Linked DNA regions of Homo sapiens: region 1 is linked to region 2. Evidence: promoter capture Hi-C in human tissues and cell types (Jung and others, 2019). All regions are on one chromosome and are shown on one strand. The core of a region is centred on a gene start or on the middle of the fragment in contact, and the rest is flanking DNA. Distances in the headings are between cores, read along the strand shown. Region 1 overlaps TFAP2C (transcription factor AP-2 gamma). Region 2 holds the start of BMP7 (bone morphogenetic protein 7).

Region 1 (4,595 bases), core at 928-3,427, 630 kb after region 2:
CTAATGCCAAAGGGCACTGCACCCTTATTTCACAAGTAAGCAAGAGTTTCCAGAAAAATCTGCAAGGGAGGGCTGGGCGCGGTGGCTCACGCCCGGAATCCCAGTACTTTGGGAGGCCGAGGCAGGTGGATCACGAGGTCAGGAGGTCGAGACCATCCTGGCTAACATGGTGAAACCCCGCCTCTACTAAAAAATACAAAAAAATCAGCTGGGCGTGGTGGCGGGCGACTGTAGTCCCAGCTAGTCGGGAGGCTGAGGCAGGAGAATGGTGTGAACCGAGGAGGCGGAGCTTGTAGTGAGCTGAGATCATGCCATTGCACTCCAGCCTGGGCAACAGAGCGAGACTCCATCTCAAAAAAAAAAAAAAAAAAAAATCTGCAAGGGAGCTAATGTTTCAGTAGGATCCTCTTGAGGGGACCTGGTTTTTGGCTACAGCATCAGCTCAGGTGTTGGGAAGAAAAACTCATTATCGTGCATCAGACTCAAGAGCTCAGTGGCAGTCCCCAGACTTCCAGTGGGGATGTGGAGAAAGAACCCGGCAAGTAAGAAGCACTGCTTGGGCGGGCGTGGTGGCTCACGCCTGTAATCCCAGCACTTTGGGAGGCTGAGGCAGGTGGATCATGAGGTCAGGAGATCAAGACCATCCTGGCTAACAGGGTGAAACCCTGTCTCCACTAAAAATACAAAAAAAATTAGCCGGGTGTGGTGGCGGGTGCCTGCAGTCCCAGCTACTCAAGAGGCTGAGGCAGGAGAATGGCATGAACCCGGGAGGCGGAGCTTGCAGTGAGCCGAGATCGAGCCACTGTACTCCAGCCTGGGCAACAGAGTGAGACTCCATCTCAAAAAAAAAATAAAAAAGAAGCACTGCTTGTGATTCCCTTCAATCCTTGGTTGACTTTGGGGCGTTTCCAGAACACTGACTGCGTTGCAATTCAGCACAGCTCCTAAAAGCCAGACTCTGGTCCAAAAGCAAGTTAAGATGCTGATAACAGAATAGCCCTTTTTCTTTCAGCCCTTTGCCCCCATAACTTCCTCTTAACACTCAACATTTCAAGCCTTGATTGAGAGATAACTGCCAACCTAAGATCTCTTTTCACCACTCCAAAGCAAAGCAATTGTGATCTTGTCATATCAACCAGATAAATCCAACTTAATGGGAATGCTTGGTGGCCAAGGACAAGATGCCAAGAGCAAAGCACTGGGTTGGCAGAGTTTAAGTTACTTAATAACATCCAACGCCAACATTAAGTCAGGAATCGTTGGGCATTTGGTAGAGAATTATGAATTAAAGATTATAAAACTGGCATTGAAGCAATGGTCTTATCCAATGGGGAAAATCCTACGGCTCCCAGTTCCCTTTGAAGCCAGGCCACACATGGCAAACTCTAAACACATCACTTCCTGGAGGAGATGCCAGGCTGCTTCAACTCGAGATCAAGTACCTGCCGTGTGCATCACAAACATCCAGCAAGTACATAACCCCTGCCAGACTCCTCTGCTCCTGGAGTAGCACAAAGACTCAATCTCTGGTTTCCCCTGCAGGCAGATGAAATGAAGAGGATGTCTTGGGTGGATGAGCACGATCTCATTTCCAAAGAGAACTTAGATGAATGGAAAACACTGGCATGCTGCACGTCCACTGCTTGCATTCGACTGAATGCCAAGTCCTCCTAAGAAACACCTGCCCAGCCTGGCGCGGTGGCTCACGCCTGTAATCCCAGCACTTTGGGAGGCCAAGTCGAGCAGATCACCTGAGGTCAGGAGTTCGAGACCAGCCTGGCCAACATGGTGAAACCCTGTCTCTACTTAAAATACAAAAATTAGCCAGGTGTGGTGGTACGCACCTGTAATCCCAGCTACTCAGGAGGCTGAGGCAGGAGAATCGCTTGAACCCGGGAGGTGGAGGTTGCAGTGAGCCGAGATTACACCATTGCACTCCAGCCTGGGGCCAAGAGCGAGACTTCATCTTAAAAAAAGAAAAAAAAAAAAAAGAGAGAAACATCTGCCCAAAGAACACCCATAATCATTTCACTTCCATTCTTGACCACTATACAGTATGCTGAGTACAGTATGCCAGTGTACCTGTCCTCAATACAGTAACCTTCCATGAGACATTGTTCCCAAAACATTGGCCCCTCTTAATGTCAATAAACTGTCCCTCAGACATTTCCCAACACCTCCAGGGTGGGGAGGATGATTCTATCCCTCTGCAGTTGAGAGACACTGATGACAGCATAAGGCCTGGGGTAGCTGAACAGTGTCGCTAGGGAGAAAAGGTGAAACTTCAGGTTCCTCCCCAACAGCACACAAAACTTGCCTGCTCAGGGCATTAACCAAGCCACAGTCAAGCCATAAATCAGCTCTGCCCTAATTCCATTCACCCAAAAGACTTTAAAACAAAAGCAAAAACAAAAACCTATAGCCAGACTTTCAGATTCTAACAAGAATACTTTTATTATACACGTATCATACACACAACAATTATTTGGGGAACATTTACAGGCAGAGAGTTCAATTCCAAATCTCCATTTCACCCACACACACTGTACTGCACACTCACCTTAGGGTTCAGCCCAACAGGAACGAGACAAAGTTATTGCTTTCTGAACAGAGAGTTTCAATTAAATAGAATCTTCCAAGCCAAGAACAGAGCCCAGCATCCTCTTAATTCTTAATACCCTGTATATATATGAATAAAACCTTATGATGTGTTATAGATTACCCCATCACCATTAAAAGTTAATATTAAAATTGGATCCCATGTCTCAAAAAAGTCGTAAGAAGTGCACCAGTATTTACAGACCCCATTAAATTACGCATAAATAAAATCTGTACACTCAACGCACTGTTTCTTAAAATACAGAACCTCCACGGGGACTTGGGGGTGACAAGCAGCAACAAATTGCTTCGTGCCTACCCTTTTCAAGTTTACTCGAAACATCTGAAATAAATATGCAAATAAAGCTTCAGTACCTTAAAGGAACATGTCATTTCAAAGAGTCTCCCATTTGAAGAGTTAACTTTCAAAGTTAAAAAAAAAAAAAAAAAAAAAGGAGAAAAAAATCAATCAGCAGGCTTCGTTTCTACAAGTTTCCTAAAACCAGAAGGCCCCCGTTTGAACACGGGGTTTAGAGTGTGTCAGATACCACTTATTAACTAGTTGCTAAGCAGATAGAACCTTTGCCTCCTACCAGAGGACTTGATCTCTGAAGAAGCTAGATACACACTTTTCTTTTTTTCAAGGTAAATATTTAGCGGACACAAAAACCAACCATTACCTTAACACTGAAAAAAAAGGTATTGTTGATCTGTTGATCTAGGGCACATCAATTTGACATTTCAATGGCTAAGTGTGTGGGTCTGTTGGCCCAGGGAATGTATTTAAAAGATTCTAAAACTTATAGCACCACTTTCAGAGAAGGAAAGAATGGGGTTCAAAAAAAAAAAGCTTAATGAATAAAGAGCCAGTACTTGTCACCTTCTGATAATAGGTCCAAAGTTAGGAGATAGCTCAGCGCTAGAGAAACAACTAAGAAGTCCAGGGGCGGGTGATGCAGAACCAGTGAAGGCTCTTTAAATAGTAAGGTAGGTAACAAACTCTTCCCCCAGGCCAGGAGGGGTTCCCAGTCTGTGCGGTGGAGAAGGATTTTTGCAGTCCTGTTCCTTCCCTACTCTCCTAACCTTTCTTCGTTCCAATTTTATTTCCTGTGTTTCTCCATTTTCTCCAGGGTTTTGTTAGAATCAGCTGGACTCTGGTCTCCAGGGTTCATGTAGGATTTGTCTATGACAATCAGGGCTTCTTTGATGTAGTTCTGCAGGGCAGACACCGCGGCACAGATGGCCTGGCTGCCAAACCCGTGGGTAATCAGGCTGAAATGAGACAAGCAGTTCTGTATGTTCGTCTCCAAGACTGGGGCGAGCCTGCTGGTCCCATGGGGTGTCCGGTCTTGGCTGAGAAGTTCTGTGAATTCTTTACACAGTTGCCTGTGAAGACAGTCAGTTGACTCGATGAGTTCCATCTAGCTCCTTACAGGTCAAGAGCACAGAACCAACTACACTGAGGCTGGCGCCCGGGAGGCAAGCACAACTGCTTCAACCCGAGGAAGGAGAATTTAATACTAATAGCCAACTGCTGCGCTTAGCAACTATTCTGCGCCAGGCTCTGAGTTAAGCTGTTTTAAAGCACTATCTTATTTAATCCTCACTGCAATTAGAAAAGACAACAGGATTAACTTAACCCCAGCTAACTGGCCAAGGTCACCAGGACTGGTAAAAGTAATGGGGCCTGGATTCCAACCCATGAGCTTAAGGGACAGTTTACCTTGGTACAAGTTGGTTCCAATAAACAAATTCCGTGAGGAACCGGGAGAAGGAAGCATCCCCCTGAAATTCTGACTCCTGACACAGCCTGGTTCACTGCGCTCTCTTTTACCCCATTTCCTGGCTCGACTAGTTCTGCTTCATTTACCATCATTTTCAAATCAACTTACTGTTGGTTTCTATGAGAAAACCCACAGCTGCATTAAGTCGTTTTGGAGACAGTTAATTTGCCCACAAATCCACCCTGATCTTTACATTTGAAAGACAAAAGTCTT
Region 2 (4,635 bases), core at 313-2,812:
ATCCCACAGCCTGGGGCCTGTGTGTAAATGGCCAGGACCTGCAGGCTGGCATTTTTCTGCTCCTTGCCTGGCCTCTGGCCTCCCCTTTCTCCACCCATGTGGCCCCTCAGGCTGCCATCTAGTCCAAAAGTCCCCAAGGGAGACCCAGAGGGCCACTTGGCCAAACTACTTCTGCTCCAGAAAACTGTAGAAGACCATAATTCTCTTCCCCAGCTCTCCTGCTCCAGGAAGGACAGCCCCAAAGTGAGGCTTAGCCAGAGCCCCTCCCAGACAAGCGCCCCCGCTTCCCCAACCTCAGCCCTTCCCAGTTCATCCCAAAGGCCCTCTGGGGACCCACTCTCTCACCCAGCCCCAGGAGGGGAAGGAGACAGGATGAACTTTTACCCCGCTGCCCTCACTGCCACTCTGGGTGCAGTAATTCCCTTGAGATCCCACACCGGCAGAGGGACCGGTGGGTTCTGAGTGGTCTGGGGACTCCCTGTGACAGCGTGCATGGCTCGGTATTGATTGAGGGATGAATGGATGAGGAGAGACAGGAGAGGAGGCCGATGGGGAGGTCTCAGGCACAGACCCTTGGAGGGGAAGAGGATGTGAAGACCAGCGGCTGGCTCCCCAGGCACTGCCACGAGGAGGGCTGATGGGAAGCCCTAGTGGTGGGGCTGGGGTGTCTGGTCTCAGGCTGAGGGGTGGCTGGAAAGATACAGGGCCCCGAAGAGGAGGAGGTGGGAAGAACCCCCCCAGCTCACACGCAGTTCACTTATTCACTCAACAAATCGTGACTGCGCAGCTACAGTGGCTACCAGGCGCTGGGTTCAAGGCACTGCGGGTACCAGAGGTGCGGAGAAGATCGCTGATCCGGGCCCCAGTGCTCTGGGTGTCTAGCGGGGGTAAGAAGGCAATAAAGAAGGCACGGAGTAACTCAAACAGCAATTCCAGACAGCAAGAGAAACTACAGGAAAGAAAACAAACGTGCGAGGGGCGAGGCGAGGAAACAACCTCAGCTTGGCAGGTCTTGGAGGTCTCTGGGAGGAGAAAGCAGCGTCTGATGGGGGCGGGAGGTGGTGAGTGGGGAGAGGTCCAGGCGGAGGGAATGGCGAGCGCAGAGACAGGCTGGCAACGGCTTCAGGGAGGCGCGGAGGGGTCAGCGTGGCTGGCTTAAAAGGATACAGGGACTGAGGGGCAAGACCGGCTCAAGGGTCACCGCTTCCAGGAAGCCTTCTATTTCCGCGCCACCTCCGCGCTCCCCCAACTTTTCCCACCGCGGTCCGCAGCCCACCCGTCCTGCTCGGGCCGCCTTCCTGGTCCGGACCGCGAGTGCCGAGAGGGCAGGGCCGGCTCCGATTCCTCCAGCCGCATCCCCGCGACGTCCCGCCAGGCTCTAGGCACCCCGTGGGCACTCAGTAAACATTTGTCGAGCGCTCTAGAGGGAATGAATGAACCCACTGGGCACAGCTGGGGGGAGGGCGGGGCCGAGGGCAGGTGGGAGGCCGCCGGCGCGGGAGGGGCCCCTCGAAGCCCGTCCTCCTCCTCCTCCTCCTCCGCCCAGGCCCCAGCGCGTACCACTCTGGCGCTCCCGAGGCGGCCTCTTGTGCGATCCAGGGCGCACAAGGCTGGGAGAGCGCCCCGGGGCCCCTGCTATCCGCGCCGGAGGTTGGAAGAGGGTGGGTTGCCGCCGCCCGAGGGCGAGAGCGCCAGAGGAGCGGGAAGAAGGAGCGCTCGCCCGCCCGCCTGCCTCCTCGCTGCCTCCCCGGCGTTGGCTCTCTGGACTCCTAGGCTTGCTGGCTGCTCCTCCCACCCGCGCCCGCCTCCTCACTCGCCTTTTCGTTCGCCGGGGCTGCTTTCCAAGCCCTGCGGTGCGCCCGGGCGAGTGCGGGGCGAGGGGCCCGGGGCCAGCACCGAGCAGGGGGCGGGGGTCCGGGCAGAGCGCGGCCGGCCGGGGAGGGGCCATGTCTGGCGCGGGCGCAGCGGGGCCCGTCTGCAGCAAGTGACCGAGCGGCGCGGACGGCCGCCTGCCCCCTCTGCCACCTGGGGCGGTGCGGGCCCGGAGCCCGGAGCCCGGGTAGCGCGTAGAGCCGGCGCGATGCACGTGCGCTCACTGCGAGCTGCGGCGCCGCACAGCTTCGTGGCGCTCTGGGCACCCCTGTTCCTGCTGCGCTCCGCCCTGGCCGACTTCAGCCTGGACAACGAGGTGCACTCGAGCTTCATCCACCGGCGCCTCCGCAGCCAGGAGCGGCGGGAGATGCAGCGCGAGATCCTCTCCATTTTGGGCTTGCCCCACCGCCCGCGCCCGCACCTCCAGGGCAAGCACAACTCGGCACCCATGTTCATGCTGGACCTGTACAACGCCATGGCGGTGGAGGAGGGCGGCGGGCCCGGCGGCCAGGGCTTCTCCTACCCCTACAAGGCCGTCTTCAGTACCCAGGGCCCCCCTCTGGCCAGCCTGCAAGATAGCCATTTCCTCACCGACGCCGACATGGTCATGAGCTTCGTCAACCTCGGTGAGTAAGGGCAGGCGAGGGTACGCGTCTCCTTTCGGGGGCACTTTGAGACTGGGAGGGAGGGAGCCGCTTCTTCTATGCAGCCCGCCCAGCTTTCCGCTCCTGGCTGAAATCGCAGTGCCTGCCCGAGGGTCTCCCACCCACAGCCCTATGACTCCCAAGCTGTGTGCGCCCCCAGGTCGGGCGCGCTGGGTTCGGTGAGCCTGTAGGGGTTACTGGGAAGGAGGGATCCTCCGAAGTCCCCTCCATGTTACGCCGCCGGCCGCATCTCTGGGGCTGGAGGCAAGGGCCGTTCAAAGCGCGGGGCTCGGTCATGTGAGCTGTCCCGGGCCGGCGCGGCTCGCGCTACCTGGATGTAAAGGGCCCTTCCCGGCGAGGCTGCCTTGCCGCCCTTCCTGGGCCCCTCTCAGCCCTGCCTGGCTCTGGCATCGCGGCCGTCGCACCCCCTTACCCTCCCTGTCAAGCCCTACCTGTCCCCTCGTGGTGCGCCCGCCTTAGCGTACCGCGCGCTCCGAGCGCCTTGGGGCCCCTCTCCGGGCCGCCGGATGCCCCATTCTCTCTTGGCTGGAGCTGGGGAAGAAACGGTGCCATTGCTAATTTTCTTTGTTTTCTTTCTTTGTTTATTTTTTTCTTTTTTCTTTTTTTTTCTTTTCTTTTCTTTTTTTTTTTTTTTGAGACGGAGTTTCACTCTTGTCGCCCAGTCTGGAGTGCAATGGCGCGATCTCTGCTCACCGCAACCTCTGCCTCCCGGGTTCAAGCGATTCTCGTGCCTCAGCCTCCCGAGTAGCTGGGATTACAGGCATGCGCCACCATGCCTGGCTAATTTTGTATTTTTAGTAGAGACAGGGTTTCTCCATGTTAGGCAGGCTGGTCTCGAACTCCCGATCTCAGGTGATCCTCCCGCCTCAGCCTCCCAAAGTGGTGCTGGGATTACAGGCGTGAGCCACTGTGCCCTGCCGCTAGTCTTCTATTTTAAGTATTTAGTGGTAGGTCCCGGGCCGGCAGAATCTATTTTCAGCATTTACCACGTGTGGCGCGCAAACCACAGGTTTTGGCGATTGGGTTGCGCGGGATCTCAGAGCTGACGCCGCGGGGGCGGCTGGGGGTCCCGGTTTCCGACTGGAGCCGCGACGACCCCGGCGACGCGAGCCTGGGGCTGCAGCGAGGGCCGGGGAGCTCCCCCTCCATATGTGCGCGCACATTCTCCAGACTTGCTCAAACTAACCCCCCGGCAGCGCCAGCGCGCTGCGGGACTGATGATCAAATATTTGGTTTCCGAGATAACACACCCCGATAGCGCTGTTTCCTGAGCCGCTTTCATTCTACTTGTGTAACTTGCTGCGAAAACCCGAACCAAGTCAAGACAGCAAACTCACGCCCACGGGCGCTGTGTCAACATGGAAATAATGATACTGAAGCCCCACGCTGGGCACCTGGGGCGTGGACTGGGGGCGCGGGGGAAGCGCAGATCCGCCTTCATGCTTCCCCCTCCTGATAAGGTCCCTGGAGTTCCCGGGAGGCCATTGTCTGTACTTAATAATAACTAAATCCAACTAGTGAACCAAGCTTCAGCGAGCAAGGGGTGGGAGGTTTAGATGCCAAAATACCTTCAAAAAAGTTTAAATTATACTAAGCAGCCAGTTAAGAAGGAAGCAGCAACATATGACCTGATTTAGAACCATCTCCAAGATGTATGAGGTGGAAAGAAGCAAGGTGCAGATGAGTGGGCTGCATGTGTGCTTGTATATCATCGTGTCCTCCTGGAGGAAGACACCAGGAACTGGAGAGAGATTTTACTGGAGGGGTAGAGAGGCGGGGGCATAGCTGGGGCTTACGGAGTGGGAGGTGGGGTCTGATTTTTCGTCGTCTGCACTTCTGTATTTGTGATTTTTTTAAAACAATGTGTATTTATTAACTATACCAAAAACTAAAGGAAAATTCCAAATACATACATATAAATAATGAACGCAGAGCTCTGTCGCCCTCCTGAAGCCTGGGGTTAGCCAGGGCCCTTTCTCTGGTGGGGGATTTATAGCATCTTCCCTTCTGTTGGGTACCCCGGACTCCCACTGAATGTGCAGGTCCCAGTGGCTGCCTTCAGAGCCTGGCTGGAATCATTAAAAAGGTATTTGTAATC

The links. The method cuts DNA at HindIII sites, captures the fragments that hold promoters and counts their contacts. A contact is called where the count stands out against the background at its distance.
Region 1: a contact is called between a fragment that was not itself captured here and the fragment with the promoter of BMP7 in region 2, in 1 of the 25 tissues and cell types used here (aorta).

Annotation. Positions count from the first base shown.
Region 1 is chr20:56,637,117-56,641,711 of GRCh38, reverse strand. It overlaps TFAP2C (transcription factor AP-2 gamma), which reads right to left. Exons shown (of 7, transcript NM_003222.4): 7 at 2,429-3,984. The coding sequence ends at 3,699. Among named protein-coding and RNA genes, the nearest start is that of TFAP2C, 10 kb to the right of the region's middle. RefSeq lists an enhancer at 4,154-4,595. The HindIII fragment of the contact is 7,963 bases long and covers 1-4,595 here.
Region 2 is chr20:57,263,568-57,268,202 of GRCh38, reverse strand. BMP7 (bone morphogenetic protein 7) reads left to right here and starts at 1,562. Exons shown (of 7, transcript NM_001719.3): 1 at 1,562-2,498. The coding sequence starts at 2,081. It overlaps LOC112268270 (translation initiation factor IF-2-like), which reads right to left and starts at 1,763. Exons shown (of 2, transcript NR_171651.1): 1 at 1,561-1,763; 2 at 916-1,420. RefSeq lists a cis regulatory region at 1,363-1,455, a promoter at 1-2,074 and enhancers at 3,183-3,898, 4,617-4,635. The HindIII fragment of the contact is 13,311 bases long and covers 1-4,635 here.